Linked DNA regions of Homo sapiens: regions 2, 3, 4, 5, 6 and 7 are each linked to region 1. The links are contacts of gene promoters, found by promoter capture Hi-C in human tissues and cell types (Jung and others, 2019). All regions are on one chromosome and are shown on one strand. The core of a region is centred on a gene start or on the middle of the fragment in contact, and the rest is flanking DNA. Distances in the headings are between cores, read along the strand shown.

Evidence for each region. The method cuts DNA at HindIII sites, captures the fragments that hold promoters and counts their contacts. A contact is called where the count stands out against the background at its distance.
Region 2: a fragment that was not itself captured here is called in contact with the fragment with the promoter of ZNF77 in region 1 in 1 of the 25 tissues and cell types used here (adrenal gland).
Region 3: a fragment that was not itself captured here is called in contact with the fragment with the promoter of ZNF77 in region 1 in 1 of the 25 tissues and cell types used here (mesenchymal stem cells).
Region 4: a contact is called between the fragment with the promoter of NFIC here and the fragment with the promoter of ZNF77 in region 1, in 3 of the 25 tissues and cell types used here (aorta, dorsolateral prefrontal cortex and lymphoblastoid cells).
Region 5: a contact is called between a fragment that was not itself captured here and the fragment with the promoter of ZNF77 in region 1, in 2 of the 25 tissues and cell types used here (H1 embryonic stem cells and dorsolateral prefrontal cortex).
Region 6: a contact is called between a fragment that was not itself captured here and the fragment with the promoter of ZNF77 in region 1, in 2 of the 25 tissues and cell types used here (dorsolateral prefrontal cortex and lymphoblastoid cells).
Region 7: the fragment with the promoter of LMNB2 here is called in contact with the fragment with the promoter of ZNF77 in region 1 in 2 of the 25 tissues and cell types used here (dorsolateral prefrontal cortex and spleen).

What each region holds. Positions count from the first base shown.
Region 1 is chr19:2,943,537-2,946,236 of GRCh38, reverse strand. It overlaps ZNF77 (zinc finger protein 77), which reads left to right and starts at 1,266. Exons shown (of 4, transcript NM_021217.3): 1 at 1,266-1,399. The coding sequence starts at 1,397. RefSeq lists an enhancer at 871-1,030 and silencers at 1,101-1,350, 1,491-1,570. The HindIII fragment of the contact is 6,632 bases long and covers 1-2,700 here.
Region 2 is chr19:2,614,259-2,616,958 of GRCh38, reverse strand. The region is part of intron 2 of GNG7 (G protein subunit gamma 7); the gene reads left to right. Among named protein-coding and RNA genes, the nearest start is that of MIR7850, 15 kb to the left of the region's middle. The HindIII fragment of the contact is 8,165 bases long and covers 1-2,700 here.
Region 3 is chr19:3,239,828-3,242,527 of GRCh38, reverse strand. All of the region lies in intron 1 of CELF5 (CUGBP Elav-like family member 5), which reads right to left. Among named protein-coding and RNA genes, the nearest start is that of CELF5, 17 kb to the right of the region's middle. The HindIII fragment of the contact is 4,011 bases long and covers 1-2,700 here.
Region 4 is chr19:3,365,306-3,368,005 of GRCh38, reverse strand. It overlaps NFIC (nuclear factor I C), which reads right to left and starts at 1,423. Exons shown (of 11, transcript NM_001245002.2): 1 at 1,340-1,423. The coding sequence starts at 1,369. RefSeq lists silencers at 415-814, 1,105-1,254, 1,705-1,794. The HindIII fragment of the contact is 27,364 bases long and covers 1-2,700 here.
Region 5 is chr19:3,305,613-3,308,312 of GRCh38, reverse strand. LOC105372244 (a long non-coding RNA gene) reads left to right here and starts at 1,411. Exons shown (of 3, transcript NR_187753.1): 1 at 1,411-1,464. The HindIII fragment of the contact is 7,399 bases long and covers 1-2,700 here.
Region 6 is chr19:3,275,606-3,278,305 of GRCh38, reverse strand. CELF5 (CUGBP Elav-like family member 5) reads right to left here. Exons shown (of 13, transcript NM_021938.4): 4 at 2,322-2,450; 5 at 196-275. Among named protein-coding and RNA genes, the nearest start is that of CELF5, 52 kb to the right of the region's middle. RefSeq lists silencers at 2,004-2,303, 2,534-2,663. The HindIII fragment of the contact is 8,579 bases long and covers 1-2,700 here.
Region 7 is chr19:2,455,542-2,458,241 of GRCh38, reverse strand. LMNB2 (lamin B2) reads left to right here and starts at 1,283. Exons shown (of 12, transcript NM_032737.4): 1 at 1,283-1,572. The coding sequence starts at 1,309. RefSeq lists silencers at 1,185-1,364, 1,485-1,734, 1,795-1,884, 2,115-2,294 and an enhancer at 2,555-2,700. The HindIII fragment of the contact is 70,551 bases long and covers 1-2,700 here.

The DNA.
Region 1 (2,700 bases), core at 17-2,516:
TGGAGTACAATGGTGAGATCACAGCTCACTGCAGCCTCAATCCCCACGGGCTCGAGCGATCCTCCTGCTTCAGCCTATCAAGTCGTTGGGACCATAGGCGCACACTCCTTTATTCCCAGCTAATTTTTGTATTTTTTGTATATATGGGGTTTTGCCATGTTGCCCAGACTGGGACAAAGGTTTATAAAGGAAAAAAAAAATTTTAAATGAGGATTACATCATTTTTCAGAAATAATTATCCTTGTCTACAAAGATCAGTAACAAGGGTCACACCAGTCTGAGTGTCCCTGTAAAAGTATTTTTTGTTTAAGCCTGTGGTTTTTGTAGAGTCTTTTTCGTTATTAAGCATATAAATGTGAGACCTCTCTCTTCATGACCTTACGTGGTTCTGTTTGTGGGAGGGCTGCTTTTTTTTTTTTTGAGACTCAGTTTCGCTCTTGTTGCCCAGGCTGGAGTGCAGTGTCCTGATCTTGGCTCACTGCAATCTCCGCCTCCTGGGTTCAAGCGATTCTCCTGCCTCAGCCTCCGGAGTAGCTGGGATTACAGGCGCCCGCCACCGTGCCCAGCTAATTTTTGTATTTTTAGGAGAGAAGTGGTTTTCGCCATTTTGGTCAGGCTGGACTTGAACTCCTGACCTCTGATGATCCGCCGGTCTCCGCCTCTCACGGTGCTGGGATTACCGGCGTGAACCACCGCGCCCGGCCGAGAGTTTTAAGAACACAGGGAGCGCCTGGTGGGGTCCGGCCTCCTGGGGCCTCGTCGTCTGGTCTCCAGATCTCCAGGTCTCTGGACCCCAGGCGTCCGCGCCCACGCGGGACAGCACGGTGACGTCACGCACGCGGGTCCCGCCCCCACGCAGGACTCCGCCCCATGGGACTCCGTGCCCTTCCTCTCCTCCCCGCACGAGGGGCCGCTCCGAGGGGAAACTGAGTCTGGAGTTGCCGTGCAGTCAGGGAGGAGGACGCCGCGCCCTCCCTGGACTGGAGTGAGTTCTCCCAGATCCGCGGCTGCCCGGCTAGAGGGTCAGCCACGCGTGTTCTCGACGAGCCCGTCACTGAGGAGAGAATTATCCAATCAGGACAGGCAGGGGCGGGGCCTAGGGAACTGTCCAATCAGAGACGTTAATCCGAAGCGGAGCCCTGCCCAATCAAGGGCGCTAGGGGGACGGACTGGAGAATTCTCCAATCAGGGGTGCGGAGTCGACAGCACTGTCCAATCAGAGTCTCCACTTCCCGAGATCTGTCCAATCAGACCCCGAGGACGGTAAGCCGAGTTCCCCTCTGCCTTGCGCGCTTCCCCGCCTACCCCGAGCGGCTCAGGTGTCCTGTCGTGCTCACCTGCGCCGGTCGCTGGACCGCGGGGCGCTAACCCTGGAGAGCCCAGGAGCGGGCGGGACATGGTGAGTGCCGGGCGGGAGCCGAGCCCGGGCCCAGGGCGAGGTGGGGCGGCAGGAACCGGCTTCCGCCCGAGTTCGCAGCCGGAGAAAGCTGAGGGACGCGCGGGGCGGCGCACGACGAGCGCCTGGGCCCCGGGGACGTGGTCACAGCGGCCGAGGGGTAGGGCTGGGGGCAGTCTGGGGTGACAGCAAAAGCGGTCAGGGGCTCGAGGGGTAGTTTCTGGGGACAGTACAGGTCAGGAGTTTGGGGAGAGCTTGTGGGGACAGCAGAGGTGGTCAGGGGCTTGAGGCAATTTAAGTGGACAGTAGAGGTTTAAGGGGCACAGGGGCAGTTTGCGGGAACAGACACGGTCAGGGGCTCGGCGGCAGTTTGGGGGTTCAGTGGAAGGGAGTCAGGCTCAAGGGCAGATTAGGGGGCCAATAGCAGCGGTCAGGAACTCGGGGACAGTTTGAGGGGGCCGTAGAGGCGGTCATGGGTTTGAAGGGGCAGTTTTGGGGGACAGGTGATCAGGGGCTCGAAGGCAGTTTAGGGGGACAGTAGCTGCAGTCGGGAGTTTGGGGGCAGCTCGAGGGGACAGCAGAAGCAGTCAGGGGCTCAGGGGCACTTTAAGGGGGGCAGTAGAGGCGATCAGGGGCTTGAGGGAAGTTTGGGGGGACAGTAAAGGGAGTCGGGCTCGAGGGATGTGTTGGGGGACAGTAGAGGCAGTCAGGGGATCGGGGAGAGTGGGAGGAGAGGGCAGGAGCCGTCAGGGGCTTGGTGGTCAGTTTGGGAAGGTCTGCCAAGGAGGAGGTGGTGCCCTGTCCTGGAGCCTGTCAAATAATAAAATCCTGGGCCGGGCGCGGTGGCTCACGCCTGTAATCCCAGCACTTTGGGAGGCCGAGGCGGGCGGATCACCTGAGGTCAGGAGTTCCAGACCAGCCTGGACAACATGGCGAAATCCCGTCTCTACTAAAAATACAAAAATTAGCCCGGCGTGGTGGCGGGCGCCTGCAATCCCAGCTACCAGGGAGGCTGAGACAGGAGAATGGCGTGAACCTGGGAGGTGGAGCTTGCAGTGAGCCGACATGGCGCCGCTGCACTCCAGCCTGGCGACAGAGAAAGACTCCGTCTCAAAAACAAAAACCAAAAAAAAAAAAAAAAAAAAAAATCCTGGCTAGAGAAGGAGAGAGAAAAATAGGGATAAGCCCCAGCCTCCGAAACCTGCCAGGTCTCAAAATCAACCAGGAAAAGGCTTTACTTTCATACACAAGAAAAGGTTTGGAGGAACGTTTTAGGGGACAAGCAGAAAGGAGGTTGACAGTAA
Region 2 (2,700 bases), core at 92-2,591, 330 kb after region 1:
CTGCATGACCAGGGAGGCGGAGCTGCACTTATCCCGTGACCCCAGATGAGGAAACAGTCAGAGGAAGAGGCGGGCAGAACCCGGGCCCCACTGCTCTTGGCAGCTCTTGGAAACATCCTCCCCTAGGGCCCTGGTCACCAGCCTTGCCCAAGAACCCACCAGCTATATTTGTCTGGTTTTTTTTTTTGAGATGGGGTTTTGCTCAGGCTGGAGTGCGATGGCGTGATCTCGGCTCACTGCAACCTGCAACCTCTGCCTCCCGGGTTCAAGCAATTCTGCCTCAGCCTCCTGAGTAGCTGGGATTACAGGCACCCGCCACCATGCCCGGCTAATTTTGTATTTTTAGGAGAGACGGGGTTTCTCCCTGTTGGTCAGGCTGGTCTCAAACTCCTGACCTGAGGTGATCCGCTCGCTTTGGCCTCCCAAAGTGCTGGGATTATAGGCATGAGCCACCACACCCAGCCTTTCTTTGTTTGTTTTTTAATAGAGATGGAGTCTCTAGCCTGGCTAACATGACAAAACCTCATCTCTACTAAAAATACAAAAATTAGCTGGGCACGGTGGCACACGCCTGTAATCCCAGCTACTCGGGAGGCTGAGGCAGGAGAATCGCTGGAACACGGGAGGCAGAGGTTGCAATGAGTCGAGATCGTGCCATTGCACTCCAGCCTGGGCAGCAGAGCGAGACTCCGGCTCAAAATAATAATAATAAATTAGAGATGGGGTCTCACTATTTTGCCCAGGCTGGTTTTGAACTCCTGAGCTCAAGGGATCCTCTCGCCTCAGCCTCCCAAAGCACTGGGATCACAGGTGTGAGGTGCCATGCCTGGCCCACACCAGCTGTGTTTAATCAATGCTGGGCAGCCCTGCAGCTTGGTGACATCAGTGGGCCACTGGCTACTGGGTGTTTTTTCCATCCTGCCCTGTTCCCTGCTGGCACCAGGGGAAAAAGGCCCATACAGGAGTCTGTTCCAGGTCACCAGATCCTGGGGTGGCCCGTAAGGATTTGAAGGGGACAGGAGGCGCCCCTTTGCCGAGGCCCTTCACTGTGTCAGGCACATTGCTGGCTGCCGTGGGTGCACAATCTTAGGGAACCCTCCTGCCTCCTCCGCCTTGCTGCTTCCTTGCAAAGAAAATTTCCCACTGCAGAGGGCAGCTTAATTGCTCAGCAGTGGCTCTTCAGAATCTCACAGATGGGCCAGGCGTGGTGGCTCATGCCTGTAATCCCAGCACTTTGGGAGGCCGAGGCGGGCAGATCATGAGGTCAGGACATCGAGACCATCCTGGCTAACATGGTGAAACCCCATGTCTACTAAAAATACAAAAAAATTAGCCAGGCGTGGTGGTGGGTGCCTGTAGTTCCAGCTACTCTGGAGGCTGAGGCAGGAGGATCACTTGAGCCCAGGAGGCTGAGGTTGCAGTGAGCTGTGACTGCACCACTGCACTCCAGCCTGGGCAACAGAGCAAGACCCTATCTCAAAAAAAAAAAAAAAAAAAAAAAAAACCGGAAAAGACAAAGAAAATAGGATGAGGTGGCACCAAGAGGACAGAGTCTGTGCCACGTGGTGTCCAGGAAGGTCTCTAAGGAGAGGACATCCTTGCCGACCCCTGCAGGATGGGGAGGAGCATTGAAGGCAGGAGGAAGGACATTCTGGAGGGCTCCCTGGAGGCGGAGGTCTGGGGGAGCCTGAATGGTGGGAACCTGGGAGGTGGAGTTTGCAGTGAGCCGAGATCGCGCCACTGCACTCCAGCCTGGGCGACAGAGCGAGACTCCGTCTCAAAAAAAAAAAAAAGAGTGTCACAGATGGCACCTTCAGACCAGACAGTGGCCGCCCAGTACCCCGAAAGTGGCCTAGAAAGCGGGGCTATTCCACACACCTTGCCCAGCCCAGCACTGAAGCCAGGGAAGGAGGGCTTGGGCAGGAGCCGCGGCACAAATCACAGCTGCAAGTTCTGGCTCTGCCAATGGCTACGGGGTGACCTTCAACAATCAGCTGCCTGCCTCCTGCCTCAGTGCCTTGTTTAAAAGCTGAGGAACGCCTTGGCATTGAGAATTGATGTGTGATGCAAGATGGGGCAGCCGCCTTGGAAACCAGTCTGGTGGTTCCTCAAAAGGCTGAACGCGGAGTCGCCACATGACCCAGCAATTCCGCTCCTAGTTATCTGCCCAGAGGAATTGGAAGCAGGTGTTCAAATAGAACCTTGCCACAAATGTTCATACAGTACGATTCACAATGGCTAAAAGGTGGAAATGACCCAAGTGTCCGTCCGTGGGTAAATAGATAAACAGCGTGGCCCTCCACACACTGGAACGAGACTCAGCCGTGAACGAGACTCTGACCCAGGCCACGTGCAGCCTGGATGCCCCTTGAGGATGTCACACTCAGTGAGAGATGCCAGATCCAAAAGGCCACACAGTGTGTCATCCTATTTCTATGAAATGTCCAGGACAGGCCAGTCTAGAGAGGCAGGAAGGGGATGTGTGGGTGCCAGGGGCTGGGGAGGGGGATGGGAAGTGACAGCTGATAGGGATGGGGTGTCTTTTTGGGGGGCTGAGAATGTTCTAGAGCTAGCTAGAGATGATGGCTGCACGAATGCCACTGGATGTCTGGAAAGGGAGCTTTTTTGTTGTGTGCATTTCACCACACATGTGCCTGAGACCCGACGTGCAGGGCCCCCCTGCGGGTACACAGAGGGCAG
Region 3 (2,700 bases), core at 89-2,588, 300 kb before region 1:
GCCATTTTTTTGTATTTTTAGTAGAGACAGGGTTTCACCATGTTGGCCAGGCTGGTCTTGAACTGCTGACCTCAAGTGATCCGCCCACCTCAGCCTCCCAAAGTACTGGGATTACAGGCATGAGTCACTGCACCCAGCCAATTTTTTGTATTTTTTAGTAGAGACGGGGTCTCACCATGTTGGCCGGGCTAGTCTTGAACTCCTGACCTCAAGTAATCTGCCCGCCTCAGCCTCCCAAAGCACTGGGATTACAGGTGCGAGCCATCGTGCCCGGCCAAATGTCGAGGGCTTAAATCTAGGTAGTCTAGCTCTGCAGACCATGCACTAACAGCTGAGATCCACTGCCTGGCTTTCGCATCTTTTCCAAAATTCTCCCCCAAGGAATATGAGGAAGAACACAGCCTCTTGCCGTACCTGCTTCCCTAGAAATAACCTTAAAATAGTGCCACCTTGGGCCGGGCATGGTGGTTCATGCCTGTAATCCTAGCATTTTGCGAGGCCAAGGCAGGTGGATAACCTGAGGTCAGGAGTTTGAGACCAGCCTGCCCAACACGGTGAAACCCCATCTCTACTAAAAACACAAAAATTAGCTGGGCGTGGCGGCGCGCGCCTCTGGTCCCAGCTACACGGGAGGTTGAGGCAGGAGAATTGCTCGAACCCGGGAGATAAGGTTGCAGTGAGCCGAGGTCGCGCCACTGCACTCCAGCCTGGGCAAGAGGGAGACTCTGTCTCAAACAAACACACAACAACAACAAACTAGTGCCACCTTTGTCAGAAACACGGGGCTGGATCAAATGCTGAGGGCCCTGTGGATCCCATTTCAACTGTGAGAGCTCTGGTTGGTTGCATCCTAGACCCAGAGGGATCCCCTGAAGGAAGCCTCAGCCTGAGCCACAGCTTATCCCCCACCCACGCCAGGTGAGCCTCTCACCGTGTCCCAGCCCCAGCCACTCCCACCCCACACACCTGCCCCAGATGGCAAGGGCACCAGAGGCAGGTGTGCAGCCTTGCTGCACACCTGGAGAGCCTTGGGGTTCTGGAGGGGGTAGACAGGGAAGTCCCACCTGGGATCAATGGTTCAGAATGCTCAGTGATTGGCAATCTGCACCCACCCTATTTTCAAAGCCTGGACAAGAACTGATCTTTAGGCCGGGCGCGGTGGCTCACACCTGTAATCCCAGCACTTTGGGAGGCAGAGGCGGGTGGATCACAAGGTCAGGAGATAGAGACTATGCTGGCCAACATGGTGAAACCCCATCTCTAGTAAAAATACAAAAAAAAAAAATTAGCTGGGCGCGGTGGCTTGTGCGTGGTGGTTCGTGCCTGTAATCCCAGCTACTTGGGAGCCTGAGGCAGAAGAACTGCTTGAACCAGGGAGTTGGTGGGTGCAGTGAGCCAAGATGGTGCCACTGCGCTCCAGCCTGGTGACAGAGCAAGACTCCGCCTCAAAAAAAAAAAAAAAGAACTGATCTTCAAGTTCATAGACAATGCACTGCACACAAATCTCTCGAGACCCAAGGGTACCAAGGGTACATTGGGGATCAAGGTGGGGGATCCTTGGGGAACATGAGATCTGCTCAATGGATAAGTTTCTCCAGCCCGGGCAGCTGGGGACCTCAGCCCAAAAGGACACTCCAGTCTCCAGCCCAGGAAAATGCTCTTTTTTGGGAAGTGATTCTCTGTGATCCTCCTGCTAGGAGGAGGCAGAGCCTGACACTCCTGTCCCCTCCACACCCTGTGTGGTCAGCCCGGGCCAAGAGAAAGGCAGGGCTGGGGACGCTCTGAAGGCAACCTGGTTCTGCTTGGAGACGGCTTCCTGAAGGATGATTCTTGGAGCTGGGGCCATAGAACAAGAGCCTGCCTGGTGTGTGGAACATAGGCTTTCAGAAGTGTGTGGTAGGGCCGGGCGCAGTGGCTCACGTCTGTAATCCCAGCACTCTGGGAGGCCGAGGCAGGTGGCTCACCTAAGGTCAGGAGTTCAAGACCAGCCTGGCCAACACGGTGAAACCCCCTCTCTACTAAAAATACAAAAACTAGCTGGGTGTGGTGGTTCATGCTTGTAGTCCCAGCTACGTAGGAGGCTGAGGCACAAGAATGACTCTTGAACCCGGGAGGCAGAGGTTGCAGTGAGTTGAGATTATGCCACTGCATTCCAGCCTGGATGACAGAGTGAGACCCCATCTCAAAAAAAAAGAAAGAAAGAAAAAGAAGGGCCAGGTGCAGTGGCTCATGCCTGTAATACCAGCACTTTGGGAGGCAGAGGCAGGCGGATCATTTGAGGTAAGGAGTTCAAGACCAGTCTGGCCAACATGATGAAACCCCGTCTCTACTAAAAATACAAAAATTGGCTAGGTGTGGTGGCGTGCACCTATAATTCCAGCTACTCAGCTACTCAGGAGGCTGAGGCAGGAGAATCACTTGAACTTGGGAGGTAAAGTTTGCAGTGAGCCGAGATCTCGCCACTGCGCTCCAGCCTGAGCAACAGAGCAAAACTCTTGCCTCAAAAAAAAAAAAAAAAGTGTGTTGCAGGAGATGGGGGATGCCATTGGAGGGGACAGATGAGGGTGAAACAGGCAAAGAACTGCTGGACTGATGTCAAGGGCAGTGGGGAGCCATGGAAGGTGTTTGAGCAGGGGTTGGGCATAGTCAGAGGTGTGTGCGGGAAAGAGCCTCCTGGGGCCAGCACGAAGAAGGGACTGG
Region 4 (2,700 bases), core at 174-2,673, 420 kb before region 1:
ATCACAGGTAGGACAGACCTCAGACCCCCTCAGCACCAGCTCCCACATTCCCTGTCGGCTGCAGGGGGCCGGTGAGAAAGACCCTACCAAGGAGCATGCCTGGCGTGGGGGGTCCCTCACTGCACCATGCCCTGGAGCGGAAGCCGGGGACTCATATACTCCCCACACAGTGCTTCTTAAGACGGGCCTGGCCCTCGCTGGAATCGCACCCCCCACGTGCCGGGACTTTACAGTTTGCCCGCCATACTGTCCCCTCTCCAGAACCGGCCTTAGCCGCACCTCACTTCAGGGGAAACTGAGGCCAGAACCTCTCCAGCCTAAAGACACACTGCGTAAGGAGGAAAGCAGCGGTCTAGAAAACGGAACTTGCAGACCTCGGGGTCCCCGGGAGCCTGGGCTGGAAGGAGTCCCCGGGGGGAGCCGCCCCCTCCCCACACACCCCCTCGGCCATTGCACAAGGCTCGGCCCCGGGGCAGTCTGGGAGTGCGGCCAGGGGTGAGAGGCTACGGGAGGGGGAGGGGGAGGGGGAGGGGACGGGGCAGGTGCCGGGCTGGCGAGGGCGTCCGCAGCGCCGCAGTGCCCGGGCCAGACCCGGAGCGCCGGGCCTCCCGCTCCTCCCGGCGGCGGCTCCAGAATCCAGAATCCAGAATCCAGAATCGATGCAGCGAAAATACCGGGACGGTGCTGGGGGGCTTGCAAAGGAGGGGGGACCCAGCCGGGCCGCCGGAGCACCCTTCCCCCTCCTGGGCCTCCAACTTCTCCTGCCCCCTCCCCCTCCATGCACACGTGGGCCAATAACGAGGGAAAGGCGACCGAGGGCCAGGGCGGCCCGCACAACCTTGGTGGGGGGACACGGGGAAAACACATGAGAGGTCCCTTTCTCTCCAGCTGGGGAGACCCAGGGTCCAATCACGACCCCCTAGATTCCTCTCAGAGGCAGGCGGGGGGCTTCCCGCAGAGCCCTTGCTGGAGGGGGGCCAGCCCCCACCCCGACCTTTCCGAGTGTCGGGGCGGGGGTGCGGAGTGCGTCGGTGTGTGGGGGGGGGACGCAAATCTGCAGACCAAGCCCCACATCCGGGAGAGGTCCCGAGAGTCGGGGTTGGGGGTGCTGGGCGGGAGTCCCGCGTAGGGGGTCCGCGGTAGGTAAGGGTGTGGGGGGGGTACCCCAGCCTGACCCATCCCCCCACCGGACCCCAGCCCTCGGCGCGGGGGGCATCCCGGGCAGGGATGGCGGGAGGGACGCGCGCCTTTTTCGTCCCGCCTCCTCCTGCTTCAAAACTCCGGGGCTGGGATGCGGGGGGCGCGGGGGCGCCGGCGGGGGGCCGGGCGAGGACCGTACCTGGGTGAGGCAGAGCGGGGACGAATACATCCCGGGCGCGGCGGGAGGCGCAGGGCCGGCCGGAGCGGGCGCGCTGAACTTACTGAGTCATTTTTCCAAACCACCCCCCCGCCCCCCCCAACCCCCCCCCCCGCCCCGCGGCCGGCGCGCTCTCCTCGCCGCCTCCTCCCTCGGTCTCCCTCCTCCTCCCTCCTGCTCTCCCTCTCTCGCGCCGCCCGCCTCGCTCTCTGTCCCTCTCTCCCTCCGTCTCTCTCTTCCTCTCTCCCCCGTCTCTGTCTCTCTGTCTCTCTCTCTACCCTCTGACACCCTCCCCCTCCCACCCCGAACCTCCCACTTCTCAACACCCAACTTTCAAAGAAACGAGGGAAAAAAGGGCGCGAGCGAGAAAGGAGAGCCTCCCCCGACGTCTCAGGACCCCCCCGCTCCTCCCGTATTTACGCAATGCCCCAGGGCACTAGACCAGGACCCCAGGACTGCAGGGCGACCCCAATTCGGATCAAGCGGAGAGGGGGGACAGGGTTGTTTCTGGACATTGAGGGGCCAGGGGTGGATTTTTAAGGCCCCCCCTCCCCACCCCCCCATCACCCCCGAGCTGGCCGGGAAGTTGGAGGAAAGAGCCAGGGGGGAGGGAAGGAATGAAGAAGTGACGTGCGCAGAGGCCGGCCAGCGCGCCTCTTTCCCCTTAAAGATGTACGACCCTGGGTGCACGGTGAGCTGGTCCCACAGCACCCTGGCTCCCTTCTCCCCCCAGAGCCAGGCAGGGGCTGCGGGTCCCCAGCTAGAGGGGCTTGTGTGCAGCTGTCCCTTCCTTGGCCAGAAGGGCCCAGGCTAACACGGGAGGCTCCAGAATTTGCTCTCTTCACCCAGCACCCAAGGGGCAGGGGAGGGGTGGCCTCGCCTGTGTGTCTCTCCAGCACCCCAGGAGGACGGTGTCCAGGCGGGATCTCCAGCTGGCCAGATAAACCCTTGCAGCCTCCCCCTGGGTATCCAATAATTTCCACCTGCCTCAGGGGTGTGCCCTTTTCACAGATCTCAAGACTGAGGTATGGCAAGTGTGGCTTGGAGCCAGGCCATCTGGACCTGGAGCCCACATTCTGTTCTCCTTCTAGACGTAACAGGGCAGAGACCTGGCCTGCCTCCGTCTGAGCCCCCAGGGCATCTGATGACAGGGCCCCAACCCTCCCCCGGTTCACTCCCTGGATCCTCCCAGGCTAGCTCAGAGGCTGCTGTGTCTCTCATTCCCATCCCAAGGGTTCTCCCCTATAAAGTGGCTTAAAGATGCCCATCCTGTGGGATTGCTGGGGATAAGGACAATGACCTTAGCAGAGCCTTGACCTTGGGTCAAATGTTCACTAAAGACA
Region 5 (2,700 bases), core at 37-2,536, 360 kb before region 1:
CTCACAGCCCCCCTCTGGTGGCTGCTGCAGGGAGGACAGACTGTGTGGCAGAGGGTGGAGCCTAGGACCAAGGCAGAGGCAACTGCGCCAGGTCCAGGTGGGCAACGATGGGGCTGGACCCAGGCAGAGGAACAGGAAGAAGTGAGCGTTTGAGGATGGAATAGTGAGGGCAGGGGCGACAGGACCTGCTGATAGATTGGAGTTGAGCAAGAAACAAAAGATCCAGGATAGCGTTGATATTCGGCTCCAGCACCCGGAAGAATGGAACTGCCGGGCCGGGCGCGGTGGCTCACGCCTATAATCCCAGCACTTTGGGCGGCCGAGGCAGGCGGATCACGAGGTCAGGAGATCGAGACCATCCTGGCTAACACGGTGAAACCCCGTCTCTACTAAAAATACAAAAAATTAGCCAGGCGTGGTGGCAGGCACCTGTAGTCCCAGCTACTCGGGAGGCTGAGGCAGGAGAATGGTGTGAACCCGGGAGGCGGAGCTTGCAGTGAGCCGAGATCGCGCCACTGCACTCTAGCCTGGGCGACAGAGCGAGACTCCGTCTCAAAAAAAAAAAAAAAAAGAATGGAACTGCCATCAGCTGAGATGCAGACGACGAGGGAGGAGCAGGATTGGGGACCAAGGACAGAGTGTTGTCCTGACTAGCAACCCCTTAGCTGTCAGAGATTAGGGCTGAGTTCATTTGAGGCTTTGATGGAGGACAGACAGGCAGAGAAAGCTCAGACCCTTGTCCCCAGTCATCCTGCATGGGAGCCCCTGCGACCAGAGCCGGGAGCTGTCCGCGACCCCCGGTGCTGAAGCTCCCATTCTAAGCAGGAACTCCGGAGCCCCCGCTGGAGTAAAGTGTCTGACATGTAGTGAACGCTCAAAACGTATCCCTGAATTTCACCCAAGGTGGCAAAGCGATTTCAGCGTCATCGTACTGCGCTGGTTTCTATGTCCCGCACGCCCCAACCTGTACTTTACGGATATGCAAACTGAGACCATGAGAGGTTGCTGCACCTTTAAAAATCACGCAATGCATCACTTTATTATTATTATTATTTTTTTTGAGACGGAGTCTGGCTCTGTGGCCCAGGCTGGAGTGCAGTGGCACGATCTCCACTCACTGCCACCTCCGCCTTCTGGATTCAAGCGATCCTCCTGCCTCAGCCTCCTGAGTAGTTGGGATTACAGGCACTCGCCACCACACCCGGCTAATTTTTGTATTTTTAGTAGAGACGGGGTTTCACCATATTGGCCAGGCTGATCTTGAACTCCTGACCTCGGGTGATCTGCCCTCCGCGGCTTCCCAAAGTGCTGGGATTACAGGCATGAGCCACGGCGCCCGGCTACGTAATGCATCACTCTTGACGTCACAATCAGCTAGGCTCTGAAGACAAATCCGAGTTCAGGCTGTGGATTGGCTGATCCCTCATGAATATGTAGATTACTCTCACCCTTCACCTCGCTCTGGTAGGTTCAGAAAAGTGAGGGGGTGGAGAGGAGGCGGGGCTGGGGGCGGGGCTGGAAACTGTTCCTGTGAGGGTTGGGGCAAGTAGTGGGGCGGGGCCAGGGACTATGGACGTGGTCAGAATTTTTGTACATTTCGTTCCCTGCCTTCTCCCCAGTACCTTTCTACAACAGCTCCTAGTACCCAGTAGGTGCTTCATAAATGTTTATTGACTCTGGATTCCAGTAGGAGTGATGCCTGAGAGTTCACTTTTCTGACCGGGGAGAAGGTCCTATTTTGCCTATAATGTGATAGTATCATTGGTATCATTCATCTTGATCTGCCCAGTTCTGGATGTTTGCATAATAACCTGAGCCCAGGCCGGGCGTGGTGGCTCACGCCTGTAATCCCAGCACTTTGGGAGGCCGAGGCGGTTGGATCAGGAAGGCCGAGGCGGGCGGATCAAGAGGTCAGGGATTCGAGACCAGCCTGACCAATATGGTGAAACCCTGTCTCTATTAAAAATACAAAAATTAGCCGGGTGTGGTGGCGCGCACCTGTAATCCCAGCTACTCGGGAGGCTGAGGCAGCAGAATCTCTTGAACCTGGGAGGCGGAGGTTGCAGTGAACTGAGATCGCGCCACTGCACTCCAGCCTGGGTGACAGAGTGAGACTCCGTCTCAAACAACCAACCAAAAATTATGTGTATACACACACACACACACATACACACGTATATATACATATATACACACATATACATTATATGTATATACACACATATGTATGTGTATATATATATATACACACACACACACACACACACATATATATATATATATCTCATGAGCCCCGTCTTACAGATGAGGAAACTGAAGCTTGGAGAGAGAATGCAAGGCTTAAGGGCATGCATGTCTTAAGTCAATCAGCAAATATTGAGGACCCAGAGGTGAGGAACTCCAGCTCCCTTGGTCGGGACTCAGCTCCTATTTGGCCCTCAGTTTTACCCCCACACATCCTGCTTCAGTCCTCTGTGTGGTTTCGAGGCCACAGTTGAGGGGCTCTCTGTTTTCTAACTCGGACCTAGGTAATTCCTACTTTTTTTTTTTTTTTTTTTTTTTTTTTTTAGACGGCGTTTCACTCTTGTCGCCCAGGCTGGAGTGCAGTGGCGCAATCTCGGCTCACCGCAACCTCCGCCTCCCAGGTTCAAGCGATTCTCCGGCCTCAGCCTCCTTAGTAGCTGGGATTACAGGCATGCA
Region 6 (2,700 bases), core at 146-2,645, 330 kb before region 1:
CACACACTCACACGTGTATACCCACTCCAGGGACCACAGCCAGGGACTGCGCCTCTTTCTCCACCTGTGCCCCCTCTGAAGGACAGCCAGGGGCTACCGGATGACAGCGACGGTAGGAATATGGCCTGTTTCATCCCTGTCCCCCTCACCCCTTTCCCACCCCCACCCCCACGGCCAAGGGCAGCTCCAACTCACCGGCATGGTCTGGCTCCCATGCAAGGCGTGGATGGCCGCCTGCGCCTCCGTGTGGGAGGAGAACTTCACGAAAGCACAGCCTGCTCCAAGAGAAGAAGAAGAGGTAGAGGGTGATGGGGTCACAGGACTGGCTGAGCGGGGGCCACAGGAGAGGGGACACAGAGACCTACATGGCCAGTGTCAGACACATGCAGCCAGAGAGAACTGATAACAGAAAGACAGCCAGCCGTTTGCTCAGACGGACAGCTGGACAATCAGCCAGATCAAGGGTCAGAATGGAGGAGAATCACACAGACAGACAGCCACAGTTAGACAAAGACCTGGTCACCCACACAGCCAGCCAGGCTAATGCAGACAGACAGCCACACACACAGAGACCACCAGACACAGGTGAATGGAAACACAGTCCCACCGACAAAGTCCATAGAACATACAGAGGCCACTGCACCTGGCTCCAGACTGGTAGAGTACTATGGAAGGGCCAGCCATATTGTGGAGGGAGGGGGTGGAATGTTCTGGAATTACATAGTGGTGATGGTTGCACGGTTTTATGAATAGAAAAAAAAAGCACTTCATTGTACATTTTTAAAGGGTGAATTTGGTAGGATGTGGAAGACATCTCAATTTTTTTCTTTTTTTGAGTCAGAGTCTTGCTCCGTCACCCAGGCTAGAGTGCAGTGGCGTGATCTCGGCTCACTGCAACATCTGCCTCCCGGGTTCAAGCAATGCTCTTCCTCAACCTCCCGAGTAGTTGGGATTACAGGCGCCTGCCACCACGCCCAGCTAATTTTTGTATTTTTTGTAGAGACGGGTTTCACCATCTTGGCCAGGCTGGTCTTGAACTCCTGATCTCGTGATCCACCTGCCTCAGCCTCCCAAAGTGCTGGGATTACAGGCGTGAGCCACCACGCCCAGCCCTCAATTTTAAAAAGGAAGAACCAGGTAATGGTCTGAAACCGTCAGACACATTCAGTTCTAGTAAGGTAAGAAAGACCAGAGTGGAGTCGGTCCCACATGATGAGCTCTGTGGACAGAGACCGCCAGACACCGTCATTTGGACTCTCAGGCAGGAAGATAGACAGACAGACACAACCAGAGACCACCAGTCAGTCATATGGACAAATCACATAGACAGAACCAGGAGGAAACAGTTTTACGAATAGTCAGGTGGAGGAATCTGAGACCACAGGGCACAGGTAACTCTGTCCGTGGAGAAGCCCCGCCCCTCCCCAGACCCCGCCCCATCACAAGCCACGCCCCTGCATCCCTACTCACAGGCAGCACCTGGAGAAGCCCCCCCGCCTCCCACCAGACACCGCCTCATCCCAAGGTACTGCCCCTGCATCCCCATCCATAAGCAGCCCCTGGAGAAGCCTTGCCCTTCCCCAAGGCCACGCCTCTGCATCTCCGCCCACCCCACCGCAGCCCCGCCCCTCTTCAGGGCCCGTCCCCACAGCCAGCATGCAGAGAGAGCATGCAGGTAGGATCAAGCGGGACCAGTCTCTGCTCCACCCAACCCCTGTGAACCAGCTTCTCCCAGCCAGCCCCAGCCTCCTATTGGCCTGGCCCCGCCCCACCTGGCCAGCCCCACCCCCTATATGCTCAGCCCCGACCCTTCCCAGGGCCTCTCCCCCTGGAGCCAGTCCCTCCTAACTCTACGTATTTCACCCCTCCCTGCAGTACCTCCCCTACCCAAGACCCCACCCTTGCAGCCTCACCCACAGACTTCAGCTCTGGAGAAGCCTCGGGCCTCTCCAGGGCTACATCCTCAGAGCCAGCTCCTCCCCACCCCTGCAGCCACACCTCTCCCCAAGGGCCCACCTTTGGAGAAGCCCCACCCCTCCCCAGGGCCCTGCCCCACAGGCCCCGCCCTCAGAGGCAGCTCCTCCCCACCCTGCAGCCCCATCCCCTCCCCAGGCCCCGCCCCTGCAATTCCGCCCCTCTCCAAGGCCCCGCCCCTGCAGCCTCACCCACAGACTCCACCCCTGGAGAAGCCCCGCCCCTCCCCAGGGTCCCACCCCAGAGCCAGCTCCTCCCCATGCTGCAGGCCCCACCCTCCCCACAGGCCCCGCCCCCAGAGCTAGCCCGGCCCCTCTCGCAGTCCCGCCCCGGCCCCCGCCAGTCACCTTTGCTGCTGCCGTCAGGCCCCCGGAGCACGGTGCACTCGTCAATGACCCCGAAGGGCTGGAACAGCCGCAGCACGTCCTCCTCCGACTGCTGCTTGTTCAGCATCCCCACGAACAGCTTCCGGTCCCCTGTGGGCGGCGACACCCACCTCAGCCGAGTCCCCGGCCTCCGGGAGGGCCTCCGGGATTCCTCCCTCCCTCCAGCAGAGTGGAGGCGGCAGGGCAGGAAGACGCGGCGCCCGGGCCCTGCCGGCTCCGGTTCTGCGCGTGCGAGGGAGGACCCAGCCGCGCCCTTTCCCTGCCCCGGATCTCTCCACCCTCCCACGGGCCCTGCACGCTCCCATCTCCCGGCCTTTGCCCAGGTGGCGCCCCCGCCTGG
Region 7 (2,700 bases), core at 34-2,533, 490 kb after region 1:
TTAGCCTCCCAAATACCTAGGACTATAGGCGCCCAGCTAATTTTTTTTTTTTTTTTTTTTTGAGGTGGAGTCTTACTCTGTTGCCTAGGCTGGAGTGCAGTGGTTCAATCTTGGCTCCCTGCAACCTCCGCCTCCCGGGTTAAAGCAATTCTCCTGCCTCAGCTTCCCGAGTAGCTGAGACTACAGGCATGTGCCACCATGCCTGGCTAATTTTTGTATTTTTAGTAGAGACGGGATTTCACCATATTGGTCAGGCTGGTCTCGAACTCCTGACCTCATGATCTGCCCGGCTTGGCCTCCTAAAGTGCTGGGAATACAGGTGTGAGCCACTGCACCTGGCTAATTTTTTTATTTTTATTTTTAGAAATGGGGTCTTGCTATGTTGCCCAGGCCAGTCTCAAACTCCTGGGCTCAGGCTATCCTCCCACCTCCGCCTCCCAAAGTGCTGGCATTACAGGCGTGAGCAAACCACTGTACCTGGCCTGGCTTTTATTTTAATTCTTATTTCTCCTTTCTTCAGCCTTTTCTGCCTGTAATGCAGAATGCCCATCCTCTCTGCTCAGCTCATTGGAGTGCCTATTTAATAGATTGAATGCTATCCAATTCATGAATTGCTAATAAGAGCCAATGAGATCATTAAACTCAATTTGTTGAAATTCATACTCCTTGACAGCCTCTTCTGGACATTTTATATCAGTGGCATTGTACACTATATGGCTTTTTTTTTTTTTTTTTTTTTTTTTTGAGACAAAGTTTCTCATTGTTGCCCAGGCTGGAGTGCAGTGCCGCGATCTTGGCTTACTGCAACCTCCACGTCCCAAGTTCAAGAGATTCTCCTGCCTCAGCCTCCCAAGTAGCTGGGATTACCGGCGCGCGCCTCCGTAGTAGAGATGGTGTGGGGGGGTCTCCCTATGTGGTCCAGGCTGATCTCGAAATTCTTTTCTCAAGTGATCCACCGGCCTTGGCCTCCCAAAGTGCTGGGATTACAGGCGTGAGCCACCACGCCCGGCCCTATATGGCCTTTTGTGTCTGGTTCTTTGAACACGTTTTGAGGTTCTCTAAGTGGGGAAACAGGTACTAGAAAGCAACCCAACGCTGTTTCCTCGTGGCGGAGCTGGGAGTTTGCAGCCAGGAAGTCTGTCTCTGGAGTCAGCGCCTCTGCGAAGCGAGAGCTGGACGGAGACTTCAACTTCCGGCGTGCCCCGCGCGCGCCCGGCGGTCGGACTACCAGTCCCAGGCTGCCCCGCCGCGGCGGGCGGCGGGCGCGGCGCGGCGCGGCGCCATCTTGCAGCCGGCGGCGCGGATTGAATGAGCCCGCCGAGCCCGGGCCGCCGTCGGGAGCAGCGCAGGCCGCGAGCCGCCGCCACCATGGCCACGCCGCTGCCCGGCCGCGCGGGCGGGCCCGCCACGCCGCTGTCGCCCACGCGCCTGTCGCGGCTGCAGGAGAAGGAGGAGCTGCGCGAGCTCAACGACCGCCTGGCGCACTACATCGACCGCGTCCGCGCGCTGGAGCTGGAGAACGACCGGCTCCTGCTCAAGATCTCAGAGAAGGAGGAGGTGACCACGCGCGAGGTGGGCGCCGGGGCTTAGGGGCCGGGCGGGGGTGCAGCCGGCAGGCCCCGCCCACCGCGGGGCGCGCGATCGCGGGGACCCTGGGCGGGGGTGCAGACGGGGACGGGCCCCGGCTTCGGGGGTTTCCGCGGGGTTTCGGGGGGCCCCTGAGTGAGGGGTGCAGCTCGGCCAGGTCCCTCCCACCGCGGGGTGGGCAATCGCTGGGACCCTGGGTGCAGACAGGGACGGGCCCGGGTCTCGAGGGTCTCCAGGGGGTTTCGAGGGGCCCCTGAGTGAGCGGTGCAGTTCGGCCAGGCCCCGCCCACCGCGGGGTGCGTGATCGCGGGGACCCTGGGCGGGGGTGCAGACGGGGACAGGCTCCGGCTCGGGGGTCTCCAGGAGGTTTGGGGGCTTCTGAGTGAGGGGTGCTGCTCGGCTAGGCCCAGCCCACTGCGGGGCTCCCAGTCGCGGGGAACCCTGAGCTGGGATGCAGACGGGGACAGTCCGGCCTCGGGGATCTCCGCCGCGTTTCGGAGAGTCCCTGAGTGAAAGGTGCTACTCGGCCAGGCCCCGCCCACCACGGGGCGCGCGATCGCGGGGGACTCTGAACGACTCCCGGCTTGGGGTCTCCAGGGGGTTTGCGGGGGGCTCCTGGATGAAGGGTGCAGGTCCTGGCCACCGCGGGGTGCGCGATCGCGGGGACCCTGGGCAGGGGTGCAGACCGGGAAGGGTCCCGGCTTGGGGGTCTCCAGGGGGTTTCAAGGGGTCCCTGAGTGAGGGGTGCAGCTCGGCCAGGCCCAGCCCACCGCGGAGTACGCGATCACGGGGGACCCTGAGCAGGGGTGGGGTCAGCCTGGCCTCGGGGATCTCCAGGGGGAGACCCTGAGTGAGGGGTGCCACCTGGGCAGGCCCTGCCCACCGCAGTTTCCGAGATCTTGGGGGACCCCTTGGGAGGGGTGCAGACCGGAGTGGCCCATTCTCTTGGGGACCTCCAGGGGGTTTCTAGGGCACTGAGTGAAAAGTGCAGACCAGGAATGCCCCACCTATGGAGGGGGTCCCAGGAGATCTTCCGTGTCCTGAGTGAGGGCTGCAGAGGGGCCTCCAGCTAGCTCTGGGGACCCTTCCGTGAGAGGTGCATTTTGGGGCCAT